Linked DNA regions of Homo sapiens: regions 1 and 2 are each linked to region 3. Evidence: promoter capture Hi-C in human tissues and cell types (Jung and others, 2019). All regions are on one chromosome and are shown on one strand. The core of a region is centred on a gene start or on the middle of the fragment in contact, and the rest is flanking DNA. Distances in the headings are between cores, read along the strand shown. Region 1 holds the start of MYBPC3 (myosin binding protein C3). Region 2 holds the start of SPI1 (Spi-1 proto-oncogene). Region 3 holds the start of LRP4 (LDL receptor related protein 4).

Region 1 (3,002 bases), core at 76-2,575, 430 kb before region 3:
GCCATTATCGTAGGGACAAATACCCGCCCCACACCTCCTCAACCCCAGAGGGCTCACTGCAGCCCAACCCTGCAGCTCCCTAGTCCTACTGCAGGGCCACAAGAGAAGGCAAAATGGTGTTGTGTCTTCATTCTTCTATTTTTATTTTTTTTTTTTTGAGACAGGGTCTTACTTTGTTGCCCAGGCTGGAGTGCAGTGGCACGAACATGGCTCACTGCAGCCCTGACCCCCCGGGCTCAAGTGATTCTCCTGCCTCAGCCTCCCGAGCATCTGGGACTACAGGTGTGCGTCACATGCCTGACTGATTTTTGTATTTTTTGTACAGATGGGGTTTCATCATGTTGCCCAGGCTGGTCTCGAACTCCTGAGCTCAAGTGATCTGCCCGCCTCAGCCTCCCAAAGTGCTGGGATTACAGGTGTGAGCCACTTCGCCCAGCCCATTTTTATTTTTTTATTATTATTCTTTGAGATATTAATAATAAAAAATAATAATAAATAATATTTTTATTATTATTATCACTCTGTCACCCAGGCTGCAGTGCAGTGGTGCGATTTTGGCTCACTGCAGCCCGGAACTCCTTGGACTCAAGCGATCCTCCCACCTCAGCCTCCTGGGTAGCTGATACTACAGGTCCACACCACCACACCTGGCTAATTTGTGTGTGTGTGTGTATTTATTTTATTTTTTATTTTTTTAGTAGAGATGGGGTTTTGCCATGTTGCCCAGGCTGGTCTCAAACTCCTGGCCTCAAATAATCTGCCTGCCTCGGCCTCCCAAAGTGCTGGGATTACAGATGAGCCACCACACCCGGCCTAACATTTTTAAAATTATAAACCCACTTCATACGTGTGACAATCCTGTGCAGTGGGTGCTGCTTTCACCCACCCCGCTTTACAGATGAGGAAACCAGGTGCTTTGAGATTAAAGAGATGGCAGTGCTAGGACTCAGAGACACCCTGGCCCCAGGGTCTGTGGACATGACCACTGCCTGAACTGCCTGCGAGGATGCTCCTGACCCGTTAGCCTTAGGGTTATGGGCCCAGCATGCTCCCACCGTACAATTTGCTGTAAGAGGGACACACACGGGGCTTGGAGTACCCCTGAGGCTTGCCAAAGGTTGGGGAGGCAGAATTGTGCTGCGGGGGGTGAGGGGGGAAGGGACAGGAGCCAGCCAGGGACAATGTGGCCCTACCTTCTCCCTGGAGAGACCTCAGCTCTCTGGAATTCATCTATATTTAGCAGGTGGCTGGACAGGAGGCAGATAAGCAGAGCCTGGGGAGGGGGGAGGTCCCCATATATAGTGGGAAGGACAGGACCCCACTCAGTCCCTCTTTGGGTGACCTGTGCCTGCTTCGTGCCTGGTGTGACGTCTCTCAGGATGCCTGAGCCGGGGAAGAAGCCAGGTAGCTTTAGGACTGGGGTTGGGTCTAAGTGTGGGAGCAGGGGGGTGTCTACAATTGGGGAGCAGGGCTAGGAGGGAGTTCTTGAGGGGGTTGACGAGGACGTGGCCTCTGAGCCCCAGGACAGGGGCAGCCAGTCCTCCAGGGTCCTTTTTTGATTCTCGGTTTCTTTTTCCCATCCCTCTGATGAGAGGTGAAGGTAAACCCAAGGTCAGGGACGCAGAGAGGGGACACAGCCAAGACAGGAAGCACCCGGGGTCAACCCATTCTGAGAATGCAAAGGGACCCCTTCCCTGTCCCATTGCCTTCACCTTCCACAGCAAGGTTCCCCGCGGACAGAGCCCACGTTTAGTATGGAGCTGAGCCAGGCTCACGGCATGCCTTCAGACCAGTCTCTACCCACTATGGGTCTCAGTCTCCCAACCTGGGGTGCCGGGGGTGGTGGTGGCATTGGGTTGGTTCCTCCTGGCTGTGACATTATCTGCTTCATGAGCCTGTACGGTGTGGCCCCCATGTTGAGGGTGACACAGCCCCTCTTCTCTGAGAGAGGACAGTCAGGAGCCCCTGAACCCAGGCCAAGGGCAGGGAAAATCACAGCCCAGGGACCTGGGCCTGGGCTGTGCCCTTATGAAGGTTGTCCAGGGCAGAGATCCAGGTCCCCATCCCCCAGCGCCCTCCCAGGCCAGCTTTATCTCAGTTGCTGATACCCAGCCTGAGGTCCTTGGAGGACAAATTTGGCCACATTCCAAGTAGGCAGACTTCCCCGCCCCCTGCCAAGGGCCCGAAATGGTTGGGGGAAAGGGAGCTGGGTTCATCACGGGTGTCTCCAAGCAGGGAAAGTGGACACATGCAGAAAAAGTCTTGTTGGGAGGTCAGGACCACAGCCCTGGCTCTCCCGACTGCTAGCTGTGTGATCTTGGAGGAGCCGCTTAGCTTCTCTGAGCCTCAGTGTCCTCCTCTGAGAAATGAACAGAATAACTGCAACTACCTCAGAGAACTGGTAGAGTATTACGTGAGGGGATGCATAGAAAGTGCTAGCACAGTATTTACTGAGAGGGGCTGCAGGGGCGGGGTGCACGCTCCAACCAGGGGCCGCTGTAGCCTCCACCTGGCCCTTCAGTCTCAGCTTTTAGCAAGAAGCCACGGTCAGTGGAAGTGGCCGCAGGCAGCCCTGCCGTGTTCGAGGCCGAGACAGAGCGGGCAGGAGTGAAGGTGCGCTGGCAGCGCGGAGGCAGTGACATCAGCGCCAGCAACAAGTACGGCCTGGCCACAGAGGGCACACGGCATACGCTGACAGTGCGGGAAGTGGGCCCTGCCGACCAGGGATCTTACGCAGTCATTGCTGGCTCCTCCAAGGTCAAGTTCGACCTCAAGGTCATAGAGGCAGGTAAGATCCTGATCAGCCTTCCCTGAGGTTTGGGCTGCTGGGGGAGGGGCAGCCCAGCGACTCTCCATCCATCCAGGGAACAGGAGGTGCTTTCACACTTTCTTGCCTTTGCTGTGGCTGTGCCCCCCGCCAGGAACGCCCTTTCCCCCTTTTCTGCACATGACCTCTCTGAGTACCCCCATGTGCCATCCTGGCTTGTTCCAGCCATGGGGTA
Region 2 (3,095 bases), core at 531-3,030, 460 kb before region 3:
ATCGGTAGATGTGTGGATGAGTGGATGGATGGATGGATGAATGGATGGATGGATAGATAAGTGGATGAGTGGATTGGTGGATGGATGAATGGATGGATGGATAGATAAGTGGATGGGTGGATTTGTGGATGGCTGGATGAATGAGTGGATGGATGGATAGGTGGATGAGTGGATGGATGAATGGGTAGATAGCTGGATTGGTGGACAGGTGGATGAGTAAATGGGTAGATGGGTAGATGGGTGGATAGGTGGATGAATGGATGGATGGATGAATGGATGGCTGGATGGATGAGTGATACCAAAAAGATACTGCATTTGTATGTTTATCACAGCACTATTCATAATAGCAAAGATACAGAATCAACATAAGTGTCCATCAACGGGTGAGTGAATAAATAACATGTTATATTGTATTTATATATATATATAATGAAATACTATTCAGCCATAAAAAAGAATGAAATTATGTCTTTGCAGCAACATGGATGGAATTGGAGGACATTATCATATGCGAAACAACGCAGAAACAGAAAGTCAAATACTGCCTGTTCTCATGGGGCTCCTGGAAACCGAAGCTGATAGGTGAATGGATGGATAGGTGGATGAATAGATGGGTGGAATGGTAGGTGGGTGGATTGGTAGATGGGTGGATGAGTGGACTGGTGGATGGATGGATGAATGAATGAAGGGGTAGGTGGATGATGGATGGGTTGATGGACAGATGAGTGGATGGGTAGATGGGTGGATGAGTGGATGGGTGGATGGATGGACAGGTGGATGAATGGATGAGCAGATTCATAGATGGATAAACAGATGGAATTGTGGACTGATGGACTGATAGCAGGTGGACGGGCTGATTAATGGACATATAGATGGTTAGATAGACAAGTAGATAAACAGATGGGTGGGTGGATGAATTGACTGACAGATGAATGAACAAACAAACGGACAGTTGGATAAATGGACACATAAGTGAATGCATGGTGGGCTTGATGAATGGATAGCTGGATGGACAAATAGACAGACAAATAGATGCATGGGAAAACAGATGAATGGTGGATAGGCAAGAAAGGTTTGTAAACCAGGAGGGTTAGATTGATATTCAGGCATTGCCAAGGGATGGGGAAACTGAGAAACCTGGGCTGGAAACAGAGCCCTAGGGATTTGAATGTGGTAATCAAGAAGCTGGGAGGGGAGGGTATAAGAACCCAGGACCCTCTTCTGGTGGTAGGGAAGCCCATGTGAACAGATTCAGAGGGAAGGAAGAAAGCAGCACTATGCTGAAGACCCTACACCTGAGCCCAGCCTCAGCCTAGGGATAGCCTAGGCAGTGGGGGTGCAGGGCCACAGGAAGAGCCAGGCCTGATAGCCTGCTAGATCAGAGCCCTCACCCAGGAAGGCTGACTCCAGAAAGTGGAGGCCCCAAGAGGCCACCCCTTCCAGCTCTGACCCCAATGAGGTGACTGTTGGCTACATAGGGATCTCAAAAGAAGCAGGCATTTGTTGGGTTAGAGCAAAAGCCTCCCAGTGGTGTGGCAGAGCTACACGTTCTCCCTCCCATCCTCCCTCCCCAGCTTAGCCCCCAAAGTCATCCCTCTCAGTCCCAGCTTCCTCTGGGCAGGGGGCCTGGACCCCATGGCTTCCCAGGCCAGCCCTTTGAGCACCACCTGCCCCAGCCGGCCAGAGACTTCCTGTATGTAGCGCAAGAGATTTATGCAAACGGGTTGGGGCGGTGATGTCACCCCAAGGGGACTATCTCCCAGCGGCAGGCCCTTCGATAAAATCAGGAACTTGTGCTGGCCCTGCAATGTCAAGGGAGGGGGCTCACCCAGGGCTCCTGTAGCTCAGGGGGCAGGCCTGAGCCCTGCACCCGCCCCACGACCGTCCAGCCCCTGACGGGGCACCCCATCCTGAGGGGCTCTGCATTGGCCCCCACCGAGGCAGGGGATCTGACCGACTCGGAGCCCGGCTGGATGTTACAGGCGTGCAAAATGGAAGGGTTTCCCCTCGTCCCCCCTGTGAGTACCGGGACTCCTCCACCAGCCCAACCCGTGGCCCTCGGACGCCTGCCTGCCTGCCCACGAACCCGCCAGCCCACCCACTGCCCTCCTGGCTTGCTATCAGTGGGAAGTCAGGGTTTCCTCCCTGGAACTCCTGGCCTGAGACCCAGCGAGGGGGCCATTGGCTTCCTCGGAGCATGCCCTGGCGGGCTGAGGCCAGGCCCACGGTGGGGCTGTGATCGGTGGGGCCTGAACAGTTATTTATAGACAGGGCTCGGGTGGCAGGCGGAGGCCGGGGCTCCTGGGGAGGGTGCTGGGCTGAGGATGGTGAAGGCGGTGGTAGAGAGGTAGAGGAGGGAGATGGGGGGACTGGCTTGGGGGAGGCCGGTCCCCTGGATGGGAAGGGGTTGAAGGCAGGAGGCAATGGGCAGAAGTCTTGGCCCATGGCCTTGGGGCTCCTGGAAACCAAAGCTGATGGAACTCTGGGTCCCCAACGCCCAGTCTGGGGCCTGGCACAGAGGACATGATTGTTGACCAAAGGGTCAGGGCCATGGGCCCACAGGGGTACCCACAGGAGACAGGGACTGGTGCTGGAAAGGAGCCAGGAGTGGAGCTGAGACAGTGCAGTTAGGGCTGGCCCCAGGGCTGGAGTTCAGGGAGAGGCGCGGCAGGGGACAGGGCTGGGACAAGGCCAGGACTGAGATTGGGGCTGGGTGGGACCTGGGGTGAGCATGTGATAAGTGAGAATGGGGGCTGAGGCTGGGACAAGGACAGGGACTGGGTCTTGGGGGTGAAGAAGTGGGAGCCCCAGGGGACCCCGAGAAGAGAAGGGCAGATCGCCACTGCTCCTCACTCTCAGTGACAGTTGCAGCCTTAGGCAGGTGTCAGACCAGGGTCCCTCGGAAAGGACCCTTCTCCCTTTTCCCACCCCATGACCTCTCAGGAGTGAGGAGGCTTGAGGGGAGCCGGGAAGGGCTTGGCAGGCTGCCCACCTGAATCCACTTTCCTGGTCTAGAGGCAGCTCCCTTCCCCCACTATGCCCTGGCTCAGAGCCACCCCAGGAGGCTGGGAGGCACCCCAGGCCTGACATCACAC
Region 3 (3,094 bases), core at 357-2,856:
CGTTTTTTCCTCCTTGGATTTTAGGCTGTGGTAACTGATCGAGGCCAGAAATGTTGACAGTCTTGCCTAGCCCCAAGATCATGTAAGCCTGACCTGACGCTACTGCCGCCTTCAGTCAGCAAGAAGAACTACACACCCAGAAAATGCTTCAGTAATAGTTACCATGGTGATGCTAGTTCAACCACATTGCATCTGGATAAAAATTTCAGGCAAAACGATATAGAAAACTACTGCCTAACAAGGAGTTAACACCTTACATCTTTTATGTTGTTGTTGTTGCTGTCGCAAAGTATGGTTCATGTTAGCTTTGGTAAAAGATGGTAATTTGAAGTGAAAGTACTGAAAAAAACAAGCAAGGATGAAATGTCAATGTATCCATTTAGAGAAATCTAATAACCACTTTGCACTATGCCAAATTACTTTCCCCTCAGCTAACAGGGGGCATTTGGGTCTTCCTGACTCTATTTACTGGTGAGGAAAGTGAGTTAATGAAATCCATAGATGATCCAAGCCCAAGAAATGCTGGCATATCAGCTGGGAGGGAAAAAAGCGATATACTGGGCCATCAGAAAGTTGGGCATTTGGGCAAAAGGAACAAAACAAGATTCAACCTGGAAAAATGGAAGGTGGTGAAATTAATCCGTATTATTAATATGCATTAGGGAGAGTAGACCACAAAAGGAAGGAAGACTAGAGACAAGTTTATGATTTTATGCAGTAAATCAAAAGTTAAATCTGAGGGAAGGACCTACAGACTGGGGCTGGAAGGAGGCTGAGGGCTTTGTGGGAGTGCAGCTGCCCATGAGGACTCCTTTCCTGACCCCCTCCCTTCCTTGTCAGGATCAGAAAGTCAAAGAAGGTGAAGAGGCTAACAACAGTGATTTACAAAGACAGCAAGGAGGAACTAAGTCTGTATGGGCCGAATCTGGGCCTCTGAGCTGGAGCAACAGGACCCAGACAACCATCTCAGGAAATGAGTGAATGAAAAGGGGCGGGGGGGTCGGTGAATTATTTAGCCCTAGAACAACGCTGCCTAGACCGGGGGAGGCCAGGGAGAAGAAAATCTCCGAAAAGGAATTTTGACAGTGAGAACGCCAGTTAAGATACAGCACTCCAGGCCCCCTGATGTCCCTTGTTTGATGTCAATAAAGACCCAAGAGGATTATGCATCCACAAGCCTTGCGTATTCGCAGACATCAAAAAAGTCTGGACTTGGGGCCGGTAGGCGGGGGCAGGGTCACGTCCAGGCGACTTGGGTCAGCTCAGGTGCTCGTCTGAAGCATAGAGCTGGAGTGAGCGGGGGCGAGACTTGCTGCTAGGATAATTTTTTTTTTTTAAGTTAGGGAAATTTAAGCAGTAGTAATAGCGACAGGGAGGGGGCTCTCTCTCGGGCCAGGAATGTGGGGGCGGCCTGAGGAGGAGCGGGGCCCCGCGCAGGAGGCGCCGGCGGGTGGGGTCGGGGGACCAGGGAGCCGGGGCCGAGGGCGGGAAGGGGCCGGGCCGGCGCTGGGGGCGGGCCCAGGCGCGGTGGCGGTGGCCGGGGCTGCGGCGCGGGGGGCGGGGCGGTCGGGCCCGGGACACCCCCTCCCGGTCCCCTGGCGGGGCAGCGTCGGCTCTGGCAGCACTGGAGGCGGCGGCGGCCCGAGGGCGACTTGCGGGGCGCGCAGGCCGCCGTGCACCCGGGACGCTTCCCCCTCGGGGACCCTCCGCGGGCTTCTCCGCCGCGCCGTCCGGCGGGAGCCGGCGGGACCCCGGGCGAGCGGCGCGGGCGGCACCATGAGGCGGCAGTGGGGCGCGCTGCTGCTTGGCGCCCTGCTCTGCGCACACGGTAAGCGGCGCCCGCCGGGAAAGTTTGTCCCTGGGTCCGGCCGCTGCAGGACTCGCCTCCCGGGACCTGGACGGCGCGGGCCGGGGCCTGAGACCCCTCGCCCTCGCTCCTAGCCGTGGCCCTGGGGCTGCGTGCAGGGGAGAGGACCCGGAGCGGCCCCGGCTCCAGCAGTCCGAGCGGGGGCATCAGCGGAGGCGCTTCCGCGGGTTCGGGTCTGGGCCGGGGCGCGGGTCTGGGCCGGGGCGCGGGTAAGGTCCGGGGCGTTCGTTCGCTCGCCCTCCCTCGCTGCTCTTTCAAGAGCGGGGGCTGCTTCCCTTTCAGGTTAGGTCGGGGGCTCTGTGTCCTTGGTGCGAATGAATGCGTGCGAAGAAAGGGAGGCGGGTGAGGAGGGTCGCTAAACCCATAAATTGTAAATAGCCCTCCTTCCTGGGGCTGGGGGCTCGGGCGGGTTGCGGAGAGAGGCCCCGGTAGAATCTGGTACTTGGGCACCGGGATTCCTCTACTCGGAGAACGATTCCCGGACTCCAGGTCTTGCTCCCACCAAGGGGCTCTGGGGCACTGTTTGCGGGCAGCATCTCCCCTCGGCGGTGTTTCGGGGTCCCTCTCTTGGCTGCGGCCAGTCAGCTTCCAGCCCTGGATCGTCCTAAAGGGAGGTGGTTGGAAAGGGGGCTGAGGAGGAATATAGGGAAGAAACTGCTGGAAGGCTCCCGCAGATCTGCCCTGGCTGGGGTAGGGGGGCAGGGGGCCGGTAACCCTGAACCCCAGAAGGCAGCCGCCGGGCCCTCGCGGCAGGGTCCCAGCCCTCGGGGGAGCTGGACGGCTGCAGCAGGACTCCTTGGTGCCCGTACCCCCTGTTGTGTGGGACTAGGGCTCCGATGGAATCTGCTTCTCCGCGGGCTCTTAACGACCCTGGGTGCACCCCGTGATTGAGCAGCTTTCCCTAGTTTGTGCCCAGAGATCAAAGAACTTTGATCTTTGAACCCCAGCCCTATTCACCCATCGCTATTCATCGTGGCGGGAGTTCCGAGTCTCCCCATTTGCCTCGCAGCCCCGATGAAGGGAGCTGGGGCTCAGAATGGAGGGGTCTGGAGACCCTGCCTGGTCTTTTACCGGTTCTTTCTTTCACGTAGGACAGCTCGTGTGGAAAAAGTCAGTGCAGATTTCCGAACTTGCCTGGCAGGGCGTGGAGATGTCTAGGCACTCGTTTTAAAGATTGGTTTACCTCCCAAATCCAAAACAGAGTTTTCATGTCTCTTATTTAAACTA

Evidence for each region. Contacts are between HindIII fragments. The study calls those that stand out against the background at their distance.
Region 1: the fragment with the promoter of MYBPC3 here is called in contact with the fragment with the promoter of LRP4 in region 3 in 1 of the 25 tissues and cell types used here (small bowel).
Region 2: the fragment with the promoter of SPI1 here is called in contact with the fragment with the promoter of LRP4 in region 3 in 1 of the 25 tissues and cell types used here (IMR-90 fibroblasts).

What each region holds. Positions count from the first base shown.
Region 1 is chr11:47,351,025-47,354,026 of GRCh38, reverse strand. It overlaps MYBPC3 (myosin binding protein C3), which reads left to right and starts at 1,325. Exons shown (of 35, transcript NM_000256.3): 1 at 1,325-1,404; 2 at 2,522-2,788. The coding sequence starts at 1,380. RefSeq lists enhancers at 1,701-2,681, 2,682-3,002. The HindIII fragment of the contact is 22,693 bases long and covers 1-3,002 here.
Region 2 is chr11:47,377,232-47,380,326 of GRCh38, reverse strand. It overlaps SPI1 (Spi-1 proto-oncogene), which reads left to right and starts at 1,780. Exons shown (of 5, transcript NM_003120.3): 1 at 1,780-2,018. The coding sequence starts at 1,974. RefSeq lists enhancers at 1,617-1,686, 1,182-2,133, 2,307-2,356, 3,027-3,095. The HindIII fragment of the contact is 21,953 bases long and covers 1-3,095 here.
Region 3 is chr11:46,917,062-46,920,155 of GRCh38, reverse strand. LRP4 (LDL receptor related protein 4) reads left to right here and starts at 1,606. Exons shown (of 38, transcript NM_002334.4): 1 at 1,606-1,828. The coding sequence starts at 1,777. RefSeq lists enhancers at 1-182, 877-1,381, 2,545-3,094 and silencers at 1,442-1,671, 1,682-1,861, 1,872-2,041. The HindIII fragment of the contact is 14,675 bases long and covers 1-3,094 here.